Linked DNA regions of Homo sapiens: all the other regions are linked to region 1. The links are contacts of gene promoters, found by promoter capture Hi-C in blood cells and fetal thymus (Javierre and others, 2016). All regions are on one chromosome and are shown on one strand. Each heading gives the region's core, a stretch centred on a gene start or on the middle of the fragment in contact. The rest is flanking DNA. Distances are from core to core; before and after follow the strand shown.

The links. Contacts are between HindIII fragments. The CHiCAGO score rates a contact against its expected background, and 5 or more counts as called.
Region 2: the fragment with the promoter of APOL1 here is called in contact with the fragment with the promoter of APOL6 in region 1 in 8 of 17 cell types (M0 macrophages, non-activated CD4 T cells, monocytes and 5 more); the score reaches 9.0 in M0 macrophages.
Region 3: a contact is called between a fragment that was not itself captured here and the fragment with the promoter of APOL6 in region 1, in 12 of 17 cell types (activated CD4 T cells, naive CD4 T cells, non-activated CD4 T cells and 9 more). The highest score is 11.7, in activated CD4 T cells.
Region 4: a fragment that was not itself captured here is called in contact with the fragment with the promoter of APOL6 in region 1 in 3 of 17 cell types (naive CD4 T cells, erythroblasts and M1 macrophages); the score reaches 6.3 in naive CD4 T cells.

The regions. Positions count from the first base shown.
Region 1 is chr22:35,646,720-35,649,972 of GRCh38, reverse strand. It overlaps APOL6 (apolipoprotein L6), which reads right to left and starts at 1,527. Exons shown (of 3, transcript NM_030641.4): 1 at 1,350-1,527. RefSeq lists an enhancer at 1,523-1,822. The HindIII fragment of the contact is 8,876 bases long and covers 392-3,253 here.
Region 2 is chr22:36,251,601-36,254,797 of GRCh38, reverse strand. APOL1 (apolipoprotein L1) reads right to left here and starts at 1,665. Exons shown (of 6, transcript NM_003661.4): 1 at 1,579-1,665. RefSeq lists an enhancer at 1,553-1,612. The HindIII fragment of the contact is 9,856 bases long and covers 1-3,197 here.
Region 3 is chr22:36,158,945-36,162,505 of GRCh38, reverse strand. APOL3 (apolipoprotein L3) reads left to right here and starts at 1,751. Exons shown (of 4, transcript NM_145639.2): 1 at 1,751-1,837. RefSeq lists enhancers at 148-307, 259-832. The HindIII fragment of the contact is 248 bases long and covers 1,832-2,079 here.
Region 4 is chr22:36,180,712-36,184,315 of GRCh38, reverse strand. No RefSeq gene overlaps it. Among named protein-coding and RNA genes, the nearest start is that of APOL4, 19 kb to the left of the region's middle. The HindIII fragment of the contact is 2,220 bases long and covers 258-2,477 here.

The sequences.
Region 1 (3,253 bases), core at 278-2,777:
GGACACTGCTAATATCTGGAAACATTTTTGATGGTCTCAGCTGGAGAGGGTACTGCTGTTGGTATGTAGAGGGCAGAGGCCAGGGATGCTGCCAAGCACCCTACGATGCAGAGGACAGCCCCCACAACCAGGGATCACCTGGTTGAACATGACAAGGTTGCTGGGGGTAAGAGACTCTGGTCTGGAACCCCATTTTTTACCAGCGTCCGCCAATACCTCTCTCATTTTTTTACATTAGTCCTATGGGATGCAGGGCAAAGGTAACAGCAGGAAACTCATCTAAGCAGGTCCCATTCCATCCCCTCTGACCTGCTCTTGGTGGTTGCGAGAGGATTTGCTTGTGAGAGGTTTATTGGAAGAGGATTTGAGAACTTACTTTCATTTGAAAGCTTACAGGATATTTATGACAGTCTTTCCTTACCTGCCTTCCCCCACAAAACCAACTTCTGCAGATACACAATCTAAGTAAGAAAAATCTGCTTACTTTGAAAACACAGCTTCAAGATAACCTCCCTAGATTTTTTTTTTTTTTTTTGAGACCGGGTCTCACTCTGTTGCCCAGGCTGGAGTGCAGTGGTGCGATCACTGCTCACTGCATTCTTGACTTCCTGGGTTCAAGTGATCCTTCCACCTCAGCACCCTCCCAAGTAGCTGGGACTACAGGTGTGCACCATCACGCCCAGCTATTTTTTGATTTTTTGTAGAGACGGGGTCTCACTATGTTGCCCATGCTGGTCTCAAACTCTTGGGCTCAAGCAATCCGCTTGCCTTAGCCTCCCAAAATGCTGGGATTACAGGCATGAGCCACTGCGCCTGGCCTAGTCGCCCTAATATTTATCACAAACTCCCTCACCCTCTTCCCCAAACAACTTCACATAAATCTACAATCTAGAAAACTCTGTAGGTTGGCTTTGCAGTTTCTAGACAACTCACCCAGCACCTTTTTTCTTGTGAGATGACACCCCTAAACCACTCCTCTACTGAATTTCTAGGGAAACGCCTGTGGCTGATGTAATCATCTGCTTTCTAAGGGCCAGGTCCCCTCTGCCTAAGCCCTCGGATCCCCAGCAGTGGAGGGACAAATGCAACTTGGCTAGTCACATCGCATGCTTTAGCATGTTTCAATTTAACCCTGAAATGGCTGTAAGGGAGGGAAACCTACCAGGATTAACACAGGAGAAGTTAATCCTCAGACTCTCCTCAAGCTCTGGCTGGCATTTGAACCCCGCTGCTTTCACAGCAGCTCTTTTCCCTGAGTCAGGTGCCTAAAGCCAACCCCTTGGGGGCTCTGTCCTTCAGGGACCAGAGCGGCAGCCCCCTCCTCCCCCGACTTCTGCCCGCCGTCTCACCTTCTCTCCACGGAGCTCTCCTTTGTGGCCTTGGGTCCCGAGGGAGAGGAAGATCCTGAACCTCTGTCCTTGCCTCTCCGAGGTCCCCTGGTCTGGCAGGGGGCTGTGAGTGTCTGGGCTGGAGAAAGACGGATAGGAAGAGTAGGGTGGCCTTTGAACAGGAATTGATTGCAAAACTGGTTTCGGTTAAGTGCTGCAGGAGAGAAAAAGCAAAGCTCTAGGGCTCTTCCAGGAAATCATGGGCTCCAGCTGTCACTTTCAGTTTCCTTTTTGCCAGTTTCTCTAATTGGATGAACAAGGAGGTGAAAGAGCAGAATCCAAGTCAGGAGGCCTGAGTCTCTCGTCTCTGTCCTGGCTGTGTTATAGGATGGACCTATATGGGGTATGAAAATAGCTCCTGTGGCTTAGAGCTATGGTGAGGAGCCCATGAGCAAGCGATGGGGCGCCTGTTGAATAGTGGATTCACAGTAGCTGTCATCACTGATTGTTCTGAAACTGCTTTCCTCCACAGCATCTTACGTGACGCTGATGTGGGTAACAACCCTATGAGGTGCACAGCATTAAAGGGCTAATAACTCTGAATGCAGAATCCTCTGAAAATGGAAACTTTATTTTATTATTATTATTATTATTGTTTTTTGAGATGAAGTCTCGCTCTGTTGCCCAGGCTGGAGTGCAATGGCACGATCTCGGCTCACTGCAACCTCCGCCTCCTACGTTCAAGCTATTCCCCTGTCTCAGCCTCCCTAGTAGCTGAGATTACAGGCACCTGCCACCACGCCCGGCTGATTTTTGTATTTTTAGTAGAGATGGGGTTTTGCCATGTTGGCCAGGCTGGTCTCAAACTGCTGACCTCAAATGATCCATCCATCTAGGCCTCCCAAAGTGCTGGGATTACAGGCGTGAGCCACCGCACCTGGCCTCAGAATGAAAACTTAAAAAAAAATGATAATTTATTCATTTAGTGGCAAAACCTGACCTGATCTGGCATGAATTCACCTGTGGTTTTTATGTCTCCTGCTTAATTTGAATATTTACAGTCACTGCAGAAATATTAATATGTTTGACTGAGGAGGGCTGCTGCGGGTGCGTGGGTTACATAGTACACGATACCTGCACCCCATTACCTTTCTAAAAATCCCCCAAATCAGGAACTCTGACATGCATCTGGCCTCAAGGATTGGAGATATAGGATTGTGATACTCTGTCTCCCACTTTAAGGAAGAGGAAACCCAGGCTTCTAGAAGTTGTGGGTTGTTTGTGATTACACAGCTAAGAACCAGTCCTAGGCTCTGTGTCTACAAGAATGAGCCCACAGTGAGGTTACGGGCTGAGATCTGTGTCTCTCTAGCATTTGTGTCAAATTGTGATCAGAAGCCATGTGGTTTGTTTGTATTTATATGCCCAGAAGTCCCCAGTCACCACCCCTAGCTGAGACCACATTGGAGGCTGTTGCTTTGCAGAAGGTGCGGCCCACCTAGCCAGTCCTGGCTTTGCTGTGATAGAGGCCACCTCCTGTCCCTGGGCCCTACGAGCAGGAATGAGGGGTTAAGGGCTGCTGAGTTGGGTCTTGTAGGGGCCTTTCCAACCGTGGCATCCCGGATTCCACAACCCACCCCTGCTCCTGGCCTCCCACACTTGGGGAACACGCTAAACACAGCCTGACCTTGAGGAGGACTTGGCTGCCTGGCTGGGGCCGCTGAGCCATCCCAGGCCTGCCTGTTGTTTTCCCTGGCAACGGACCCAGATGTTGTGGTCACTGCTCGGTCCTGGGAGTCTCAGGGGCCAGACCGGCCATTGGATGGGGGCAGTGTTTACCACCAGGGCTCTTGTGAAACAATCGCCCCAAGAGATGCCATGTGAGAAAAATGTTCTGTAGCCAAATGCAGGAAGTGCTGCTTATG
Region 2 (3,197 bases), core at 416-2,915, 600 kb before region 1:
TCTGCCTCCCGGGTTCACGCCATTCTCCTGCCTCAGCCTCCCGAGTAGCTGGGACTACAGGTGCCCGCCACGACACCCGGCTAATTTTTTTGTATTTTTAGTAGAGACAGGGTTTCACCATGTTAGCCAGGATGGTCTCGATATCCTGACCTCGTGACCACCTGTCTTGGCCTCCCAAAGTGCTGGGATTACAGGCGTGAGCCACCGCGCCCGGCCTTTCGTTTAGTTTTTAATAAACAGTTTTGCTCTGTCACCCAGGCTGCAGGGCTTTGACACCATCCTAGCTCATTGCAGCCTAGATCTGTTGGGCTCAAGTGATCCGCCTCCTTCAACCTTCTGAGTAGCTGGGACTACAGGTACACACTACCATGCTGGGCTAATTTGTTAATTTTTGATTTCATAGAGACAGCATCTCCTGTGTTTCCCAGGCTGTCTTGAACTCCTGGCCTCAAGTCATCCTCCCGCCTCTGCCTCCCACAGCACTGGGGTTACAGGCTTCATCATCTCTTTTTGGTGAAGAACAAATAAGACCATGACTCAGATTTCACAGAAATTACCCCCCTGATTTCATGGACTTTTGGCAGCTCTATCAGGTTTTTTACAGGGGAAAATACTCAGGCTGGGAGGGGAGGTGAATTTCCCAGAGTCACACAGCTCTTGGAGGGCAGAGGGGAGGCCAACATCTGCCCTTGTGACTCTAATATTGAAGCAAAAATGTTTGATTTTAATAATCCAAAAGTTTCCAGGTTTGATTCTCCTTCTATGAACACAGAGATCTAAGCTCTCACTCCTGTAGTTATACTCACAATTCCACAGTGTGGCTTTTGAATCTCATGATTGCAAAGCTGGCATCATGCCACAGGCACCATTCTGCAACGCACCCTTCTCACTCCCCTGTCTCAGCCACGTTTCCCATTAGGGACACAGCACAGCCTGTTTCTTCTCCATCACCCCAGAAGTCTGAACAGAGGGACAGAGGTGAGGGCCAGAGACGTGGAGTCCTATGATCTACCTGCTCAGCCTCCTGACACGGGACCCTGGGCAAGTCATTCCGCTCCCAGGGCCTCAGTTTCCCCACAGGGCCTGGCACAAGTTGGTGCTCAGACTCAGGGTGGGTGAGATGACCTCTGAACTCCTTGTACCTGAAAAAAAATTCTGTTGCCCCCATTGGGCCTCAGCAGCAGCACCCTGGGGCCAGCCTTGGTGTGGCCTGGCCATAAGAACAGGCTGGGATCTGGGTCACCTCCTCTCCTCCACCTTCTTTGGTTCCTTCAAATTTCCCAAAGAGATGGGCACCCCCAACACAAACCTTCCTTCTGGGTTCACTCAGTCGTGTCTCAGCAGTCAAAACCAGGGCTGAGCCCAGGGAGCTTTGTGAACCCATCTGAGCTGTTTCCCCAACCCTCTATAGTTTAAGAGCCCAGCAGGAGAGGGGAAGCAATCAGACTCAAGCCTGGGTGCAAATCCAGGCTTTGCCGCTACTTTCCTGTCTATCTGAACCAGTCACCTAACCTCTCCCAGCTTATCTACAAAAGCTGTGAGAATAAGATGGAGGCAGGTCAACTGTCCCCAACTTACCAAGGAATCTTCCCCTGGCAGAGACTGAGCAAGATCCAGCTGTTCTGAGCTGTGTGGATCCCACCTCCAGTTATGCGTCTGTATAATAACCAGACAGGTCCTCCAGTCCCCAAGATATACCGAGGAATTCGAAAGGGAAAGTGAAAGTCACAACTTCCCAGCAGCTCATGACCAAGCACAGCAAACACGCTCCCCTCCACCTTCAGTCCAGCCCCACCCTCCTTGCTGCTGCCCTTAGAGGAGCAGCCTGAGACCAGACATCCAGATCCCTCTCATCCAACCCACCTGCCTCGCATCCTCAGGGCTGGGGGTCTGCTGTGGTCTCAAGGAGAAAGACCTGCCACTGACATACTATGGGACCCTGCAGATTACTCCCCATCCTCCCGTGCATCCACATTCCCCTGATGCCTGCCTTACTCCTGCCCGTGCCATCGGCATAAGCACAGTCTCCCACACATGCCTTGTGGATGCTTATTGTATATTTATTGTAATGCCGTTGGGGTTATTTTGGTTATGTTTTTGAGACAGGGTCTCAGTCTGTCACCAAGACTGAATTGCAGTGCCACAGTCATCGCGCACAGCAGCTTCAAACCCCTGGGCTTAAGCCATCCCCCCACCTCAGCCTCCTGAGTAGCTGGTTCTACAGGTATCAGCCAACCACCCAGCTAATTTTTAAAAAAATTATATTAGAGATGGTGCCTCACTATATTGACTGGGCTACTCTTGAACTCCAGGCCTCAAGTGATCCTCCCACCTTGGCATGAGCCACCGCACCAGGCCTGCTCTTGTTGAAGGCCATGCCTTGTGGCTTCTAGATATTTGCTTATATGGGGTCTTCTGCCGGGAGCACCTGCTTCCACCGCCTGGAAAAATCATGCTCATCGTTCAGTGACAAAATCAGGCATTGCCTCCTTTCAGAGATCCCCCAGCATCCTCCCCAGCAGAGGCCACTGCCCCGTGTTCCACTCCCGAGGCACACAGGGTGGAGGGACTAGAGACCACTGCTCAGCCACACTTCCATGACTAGGAAGTCATGCAACCAGATTGCTATTGGACTTTTGTGCTTTGCCCCAGGCAGAAGGGCCTCAAAGGCAGCTAAACCACAGAAGCCAACCTGACCCTTCCATGGGGGCCTATTTCATCCTGAGCAAACATCTCTGGGGGCATCGTGTCCACCTCACCCCACCCATACACACACACACACCAGCTTATGAGGCAGGAAGAGAATGGTGATTACACAGGGACTGCACAATACACTTTGCAATACATTCCATTTGCAAATGCTTCTCCATTTGATTGAGTTTTATAATCATCCCCTCAATGGGCCAGGATTATGATCTGATTTTGCAGATGAGGAAACTGAGGCAAGAAGAGAGGACGTTGCTTTCATCCAGCAACTCAGGGAGGAGGCAAGACTTGTAAACCAAAGAGGGTCTGGGACACGTCTCAGTCAGTTTAGATGTTTACTCTGCCAAGGTTGAGGATGCACCCAGGAAAAAGTCACACAAGTCACAGGAGGTTCTGGGGTCCACTCGTTTTTCACAGAGGGTTTTGAGGCCTCCAGTATTTAAATGTGTAAAATCAGGCAGGAGTGGAAGGAGGAAAGGAAAAAAGACAGG
Region 3 (3,561 bases), core at 706-3,205, 510 kb before region 1:
GGCAGTTTATGGTTATATAACTAAAATTAGGCAATGCATGTTTTTACCCATAATTTTCACAGAAAAGCCCACTCTGGGGCTTTTGTATAATAAAACCACATTTTATTATAATGATGGTATAATGAACTTGGGGTGACCTGAGGGCACAGTTTCATGTTACTGGGCATGTGCCCCTTTAGGGAATTTCCACCTGTGCCCTAGTTTCTCTTTCTTCAGGATGTGCTGGCCACAAACTATACCACCAACTTCATCAGTTAGGGGGGTCTTAGAATGGCTCTGGGGCTGAACTTAGGTGGGCCAGGAGCTGTTGCAGTGACAGGCTTTCTGCTCTCTTTTCTCCTCCCAGCTGCTAATGTCTACTTAACTGCCTGTTGGGAGCTGAAAAGGCCAAAGGGATTGTGACCAACTCAGCATTTCACTGGAGGCTATATGATCAAACAGCAAACTGTTTATCATGAATGCGGGATGTGGGTAAACTCACACTGCACCCGCCGCCAGAAGGTTTCCTGAGGGCCATCACTCCCTGGTGCTGGGCTCCTTGAAGTTATCTGTTGGGATATCTAGCACCTATTATTTGAAGGATGCAGTCTTGCAAGCCTGCTGTGAACCAAACGGCTGACTGACAATTACCTGACAATCACCCCCCCACCTTTTTCTCGTCATCTCTTTTACCTAATAAACTCAGAGAGCTTGAAAAGCTCAGAGCCCTTGTTCACTAGAAGCAAGGAACCCCCTGACCCCTTCTTCCTAATATACTCTTTTGTCTTTGTCTTTTACTCCCACATCCGCCCCCCACTTTGTTCAGTCAACCTGGGACTGTGGCCAATTACAACAGCCTAACAAAAGTGCCACAGGAGTGGAACATGGGGCAGTGGGCTCTGCTGAAGAGGATGCTAGGGGGCTTCTCAGGGGAGGAAATGCTAGATTTGCATTCTGATAGAGGAGCGTGACTTTTCCAGGTGAAGGTAGCAGGTGCTCCTGGCAGAAGAACCCACATAAGGAAGTGTCCAGAAGCCACACAGGTATGGCGTTCGACAAGAGCAGGTCTGGAACGGTGGCTCATGCTGAGGCAGGAGGATCATTTGAGGCCAGAGTTTGAAACCAACCTGGTAAAAATAGTAAGATTTCACCCCTTCAAAATCATTTTTTAAAAGTAGCCAGGCCGAGTGGCTCATGCTTGTAGTCCCAGCTACTCAGGAGGTTCATTTGAACCCTGGAATTTGAGGCTACAGTGAGCTATTATTGTGCCACCGCACTCCAGCCTGGGTGACAGAGCCAGACCCCATCTCAAAAACAAAACAAAACAAAACAACAAAATAACCCCAACAGCAATACAATCAATATGCAATAAGCGTCCACCCGGCATGTGTGATGGACTGTGGTAATGCTGATGGCATGGAGGGAGTGAGGTGGGCATCTGGGGAGTGTGGTGTTATTGGGGGTGGGGAGTAATCTGGAGGGTCTCATAGTCTTTCAGTGGTAGGTCTTTCTTCCTGAAGACACAGCAAACCCCCAACCCTAAGTATGGGAGGCAGGTGGGTTGGCCAAGAAGGACGTCTGGGGCTGCTCTTGGATCAGCAGGAGGGTGGGACCAAGGGTGCTGCTGGACCAAGGATGGGACTGGGCCAAGGGTGGGGCTGGGAAGCATCCTGTTTTGCATGTTTGATCAGGAGCTGCTGCCAAGTTGTGACTTTCACTTTCCCTTTTGGGTTCCAGGGTATATCTCAGAGCCTGGAGAACGTGTCTGGTTATTATGCAGATGCACGGCTGGAGGTGGGATCCACACAGCTCAGAACAGCTGGATCTTGCTCACACTCTTTCAAGAGAAGCTTCCTTGGTAAGTTAGGGGTGGTCTGACCTTCCCCATCTCCCCATCCTCACAGCAGCTCTATAAGAGAAGGGTCATTCACCTTTTGTAGATGAGCTCAGAGAGGTTAGGTAACTGACTGAGGTCACATCTCGGTCCATGGCAGAGCCTGAATTTGCACCCAGGTTTTAGCTGGACTTCTCCCTCCCTCTCTCTGGGCCCCCAAACAGTAGAGACAGAGGCAGAATCAGCTCAGCTGGGTTCACAAAGCTTCCTAGGGCTCAGCTCTAGTTCCAGCCTGCGTGAGACATGGCCCGGTGACCCCAGAAGGAAGGCAGATGTTGGGACTGTCCATTCCTTTAGAATATTTGGAGGAACCAGAGAAGGTGGAGGACAGGAGGTGATCCAGAGCCTGGCCTGTCCTTCTTGTGGCCTGGCCACCCTGAGGCTGGCCCCAGGGTGCTGCTGCTGAGGCCCGATGGGGACAGAGGATTTCCTTTGAGATACAAGGAACCTGGCTGGGCGCGGTGGCTCATGCCTGTAATCCCAGCACTTTGAGAGGCCGAGACGGGTAGATCACTTGAGGTTAGGAGTTCGAGACCTGCCTGGCCAATATGGAGAAACCCTGCCTCTACTAAAAATACAAAAAATTAGCTGGGCGTGGTGGCACAAGCCAGTAATCCCAGCTACTTGGGAGGCTGAGGCATGAGAATCACTTGAACCCAGGTGATGAAGGTTGCAGTGAGTCGAGATCGCACCAGTCACTCCAGCCTGAGTGCACTCCTGACAGAGTGAGACTCTGTCTCAAAAAAAAAAAAGAGAGAGAGAGCGAAAAGAGATAACAAGGAACCCAGAGGTTGTTTCACCCACCCTGACTCTGAGCACCTACTTGAGCCAGGCCCTGTGGGTAAACTGAGGCCATGGGAGATGAGTGACTCGCTGAGGGTCCCATGTCAGGAAGTTGAGCAGGTAGATCACAGGACTCCATGTCCCTGACACTCACCTGGTTCCTTTTCAGGCCTCTGGGTGATAGAGAAGAAAGAAGCTGTGCTGTTCCCTAGTGGGAAAGATGGCCCAGACAGGGGCAGTGAGAACGGCATGTTGCAGAATGGTGTCTGCCACATGATCCCAGCTTGACAATCATGAGATTAAAAGTCAAACTGTGGAAGCGTGAGCATAACTGTGGGAGCGTGAGCTTAGCCCTCTGTGTTTGTAGAAGCAGAAACAAACCTGGAAGATTTTGGATTATTAACATTATACTTTCTTGCTTCAATGTCAGAGTCAGGAGGTCAGGTGTTGACCTTCCCCCTGCCCTCCAAGAGGTGTGTGACACTGGGGAAGTCACTTCCCCTCTCTGAGCCTCAGGGTTTTTCACCTGCCTTAGGGGGTTAGGATGCCCTACCCTGCTGACCCCCAGCAGGCTGCTGACCCCATCTGGGGTGAGGTGGGAGGCGGGGCAGTGCGAGTCAGGGGAAAGTTGACATTGCAGCCCAGATGCCTGCAGGGGCTGCAGGAAAGTGGGGAGAGCTGGAGGCCTGCATGGGCTTCTCAGATCCAGGTGATGCCCAGCAGGTGAGAGGGTGGGCCTGGCTCCTCAGAGCTCAGATGACGGAACATTTGCTATAAACTCAGGTGCAATTACATTTGACATGCTGGCAACCAAATAAAAGGCAAACCTTGCATATGCCACACACACACTCACAAATTCACACACACACACACACACACACACGCACACTCACACCTGCTATTCA
Region 4 (3,604 bases), core at 118-2,617, 530 kb before region 1:
TTCTGCTGTTGGAAGACAAACAGTTGTTTCCCTGCTGACGACTGGCTGCATTGAAGAGGTGAACAGGTGAGTCACAGGAATCACTGCTTCTGCTCCCTTTAAACCTTGATGATGGCAGCAATCTCTCTAACTCCTCCATGAATTTGCTGTTGACTCTGATTAAAATATTTAGGCAGGTATGTAAAACCAACGGCTTCCACCGGCGTCTGTCACTGAAATAGTCATCATCCGTGGGTCTACGTGAACAATCTGAAGCTTCCAAGAATATGCATTCCAGTTATCCACCCAGGAATTTAAAAAATAATAACCAGGTGATAGACTTATTGAAAAGTAAACTGAAATCAGATATTCATTCATTACTTGTTCCCTGTAACCCCCCCTCTGACTGGAACACCACAGTGGCACTCTGGGTCATTATGGGTCCCAGGAATTGGTGTCAGTCTGGATGGGATCCAACAGTCCTGGGGATGGGTTTCCTTTAAGCCGTCCCCTGTGATCTGAGGGGACGCTCCAGGTCCAGGGAGAACAGGTAGGAGGAACGCTCACAGGCTGCACTTATGGGAAATGACGGGGCCTTTTGCAGACTCCTGGCCTCCCTTTCCTTCAAGGGCTCTGGGTCTGTGCTATGAGTCAGGCCTGAGAATTGAGTGACAAGCAGGGGCCATCCAGCATGATGACCTGTGACAGGTGCCTGCTCACCAGACTGGGGGTTTTGCGAAGTCAGTAGACTGTCCACCAGCTCTGTTGCTGGATTCTGCATGTGGAACGTCCCTGAGCCCAGATCATGCGCCCTCCCTGCTTCTTGACCTGGTGTCCACACTCTTTTCTTCTGGCCACCACCTGCCTCACCCTAGGGTTTGCCTCTTGGAATTTCTCCCACCCTAAAGAGACCAGGGTCCTAGCCCCTCCCCCATTCTAGAGAGCTCTAGAGAATATCCACTGATTCTTCTCATCAAAGGAAAGGGGAATCTCCTGGGCCCTGGCAGCACACAGTCAGGGCAGAAAGCGCCTGAGAAATCCAGTCTAACCCTCCGGTCTCCTATACACTTGACTCCTTCTTCTTTATCATGCCAGGTAATTTCTGGCCTTTTGGTGTCATAGAGAGGTGGCCAGCATTTACTCAAGGGTTGCATGGCCAGTCCTGGGCACAATTAGAATCTAAGCCAGCTGTTGGGGCGAAGTGTGTTAGCTCATGACAACTATGGAAAGGAATCCACATGATGCTCCCCTTTCCTTGCCAACCTCCCTCAGACCCCACCCTGCAAATGGTCTCCGGCTCTTTGGAGCTTTGACAGCGAGCTCCTTCTGCTGCAGCGCCTCACTCCTTTCCATTCTGCAGTTCAGTCTTGGGCCACAATGACTTGAACGCAGGCTGTCTAGAAACAGAGAGTGGGGCAGGAGCAGACAGGAACAGAGTTGGAGCAGCTTCCTCTAGCGGGGCCTGTACCTCAGAAAAGCCCTTAGACATGGCTACGAGTTGGGATTCTTCAAACTCCTTGATATCCCCATCGTAATTTTCTTGATGCAACTTGTTTTAGGCTGAATAACAGCCCCCTACAGATGTGCATGTCCTAACCCTGGGACTTGCGATTATATCACCTTCCATCATAAAAGGGACCTTGCAGTTATCGTCCAGATAAGGATCTGGAGATGGGAGATTATTTGGGATTCTTTAAGTGGGTCCAATGTAACCACAAGGGTCCTTCTAAGGCAGAGACAGTAGGGTGAGAGGGAGAAAAGGAGATGAGATGATAGAAGGGGAGAGAGACTGGGAGAGATCGGAGGATGCTACAAGGCTGACTTTGAAGAGGAAGGAAGGAGACAGGAGCCAAGGCCAGCAGTTTCCTCCAAGAGCTGGAAGAGGCAATGGAATGGCTTCTTCTTCCAGAGCCTCCAGAAGGAACGCAGCTCTGCCCACACCTTGATTTTAGGACTTCTGAGCTCCAGAAGAACTTCGTGTTGGTTTGAGCCACTGTGTCTGTGGTGCTTTGTTACAGCAGGGGAGGAGCTAACACACCACTCTCTCCCTATCAGGGCCCTCATGTGCGCTTAGAAGATCTGGCGAGGACGAAATTTATCATGTAACCAGAAACCTACAGAATTTGCTTTTCATAGGAAAGTCAGCCAAAAATATCAACAGCCACAATTTATCAGACGCCTTCAGGAAAAATGTCAAAGCCAGGCATTTGTCTGAAGTGACCTATCCTGCTTCAGGTCCCAGCGTTCCTTGCCCCTTTCCACAAGATGACAGCAGGTGCTCCCCGGAATGCTGGGGTTGGGGGTGGCTCACTGTTGCTCTGCCCTCCTCTCAGCCTGAAAACTTATTCCAAATATGCCAATCATCTGAGGGCCTGTGATCTGCAACCAACTCTTTGGGACAATGTTTGTATCAGTTAACATTTTTTTTTTGAAGCAAGGAGAGCGCAAAGCAAAACAAAGTCAAAAGCAAATGCAAGAACAAAAGTGAAGCGAAAGCTTTTTAAAATCCTCTGGCTAACTCTGCAGTAGAGACATGTATTGGAAGAATCCAGAGAGAAAGCTCACAGAATTAAATAAATAAAGAAATCTATGGGTGTGCACACACACATGTATGGACAGACACACACACACACACACACACACACACACACACACAGGCAATTTTAAAGCCAGGTTTAGGGAAGACCAGGGATCCGGAAAGCCTCAGGGGTGTCAGCAGTGGGAAACCAGCTCCTCTTCAGGCCTCAGCTCCACTGCCTGCTGCCTCTAAGGGTTTTCCTTCAGGTCCTCCAATTTCCTGGGAAGAGACTCCGATGGGCCCCAGGGGACCATCAAGCCCGCATCCATGCTGTTCCTCAGACAGTAAAGCAACTGCAGGTTTTCCTAGGTTTACTGGGCTACTGGAGGATATTCATTCCTCATTTGGCACAATCCCTTTGCCCATTATACACTCTAATAAAGAAAGGTGAAACAAATGGGACTGGACAGATATGGAGCAAGAGGCTTCTGACAAAACAAAATATGGGTGAAACAAGCTCAAGCAACAGGAGCCTCATGACCACAGCACCCTCTTGTACTGGAAGTCACTAGAGACGCCACTGACCTGAGTTGGAGTTTGTCGCAAATGCAACCCACAGGAATGGTACCTGTAGGGTTTCAGTCTCAACTGTGGAAGGGAGCAGAATCTCACTTTACAGTGCTGGAGCAGCAGCTATTGGCCATGTATAGGACATTGCAACGAGCAGAGGCCATCGCCAGAAAGCAGACTGTCCCAGTAAAGACTGCCTACCTTATACAAGGGTGAATGGAAGGTCTCCTAGCCAAGCCCGCCTCCCGGGGTGGCACAACCACACATCCTACAGAAATGCCATGCCTCTCTGCAACAAAGGGATGCCCTGTCCACTAGTCCTTTAAGTCAAGTACTACAGGACGTGCTTGAAAGAGCGGACATGGCAATAGATCCACCTACCATGCCAACTACCATATATGAGGCGACCCTTACGATATCTGCCAGGCAAACACATGGAACTAGCAAGAGCACCTAACACTTACGGTCAGTGCTGACGGTGCAAATGGATACTGACACCATATGGATAGAATGGGGGTAACGACAAAGCAGTCAATG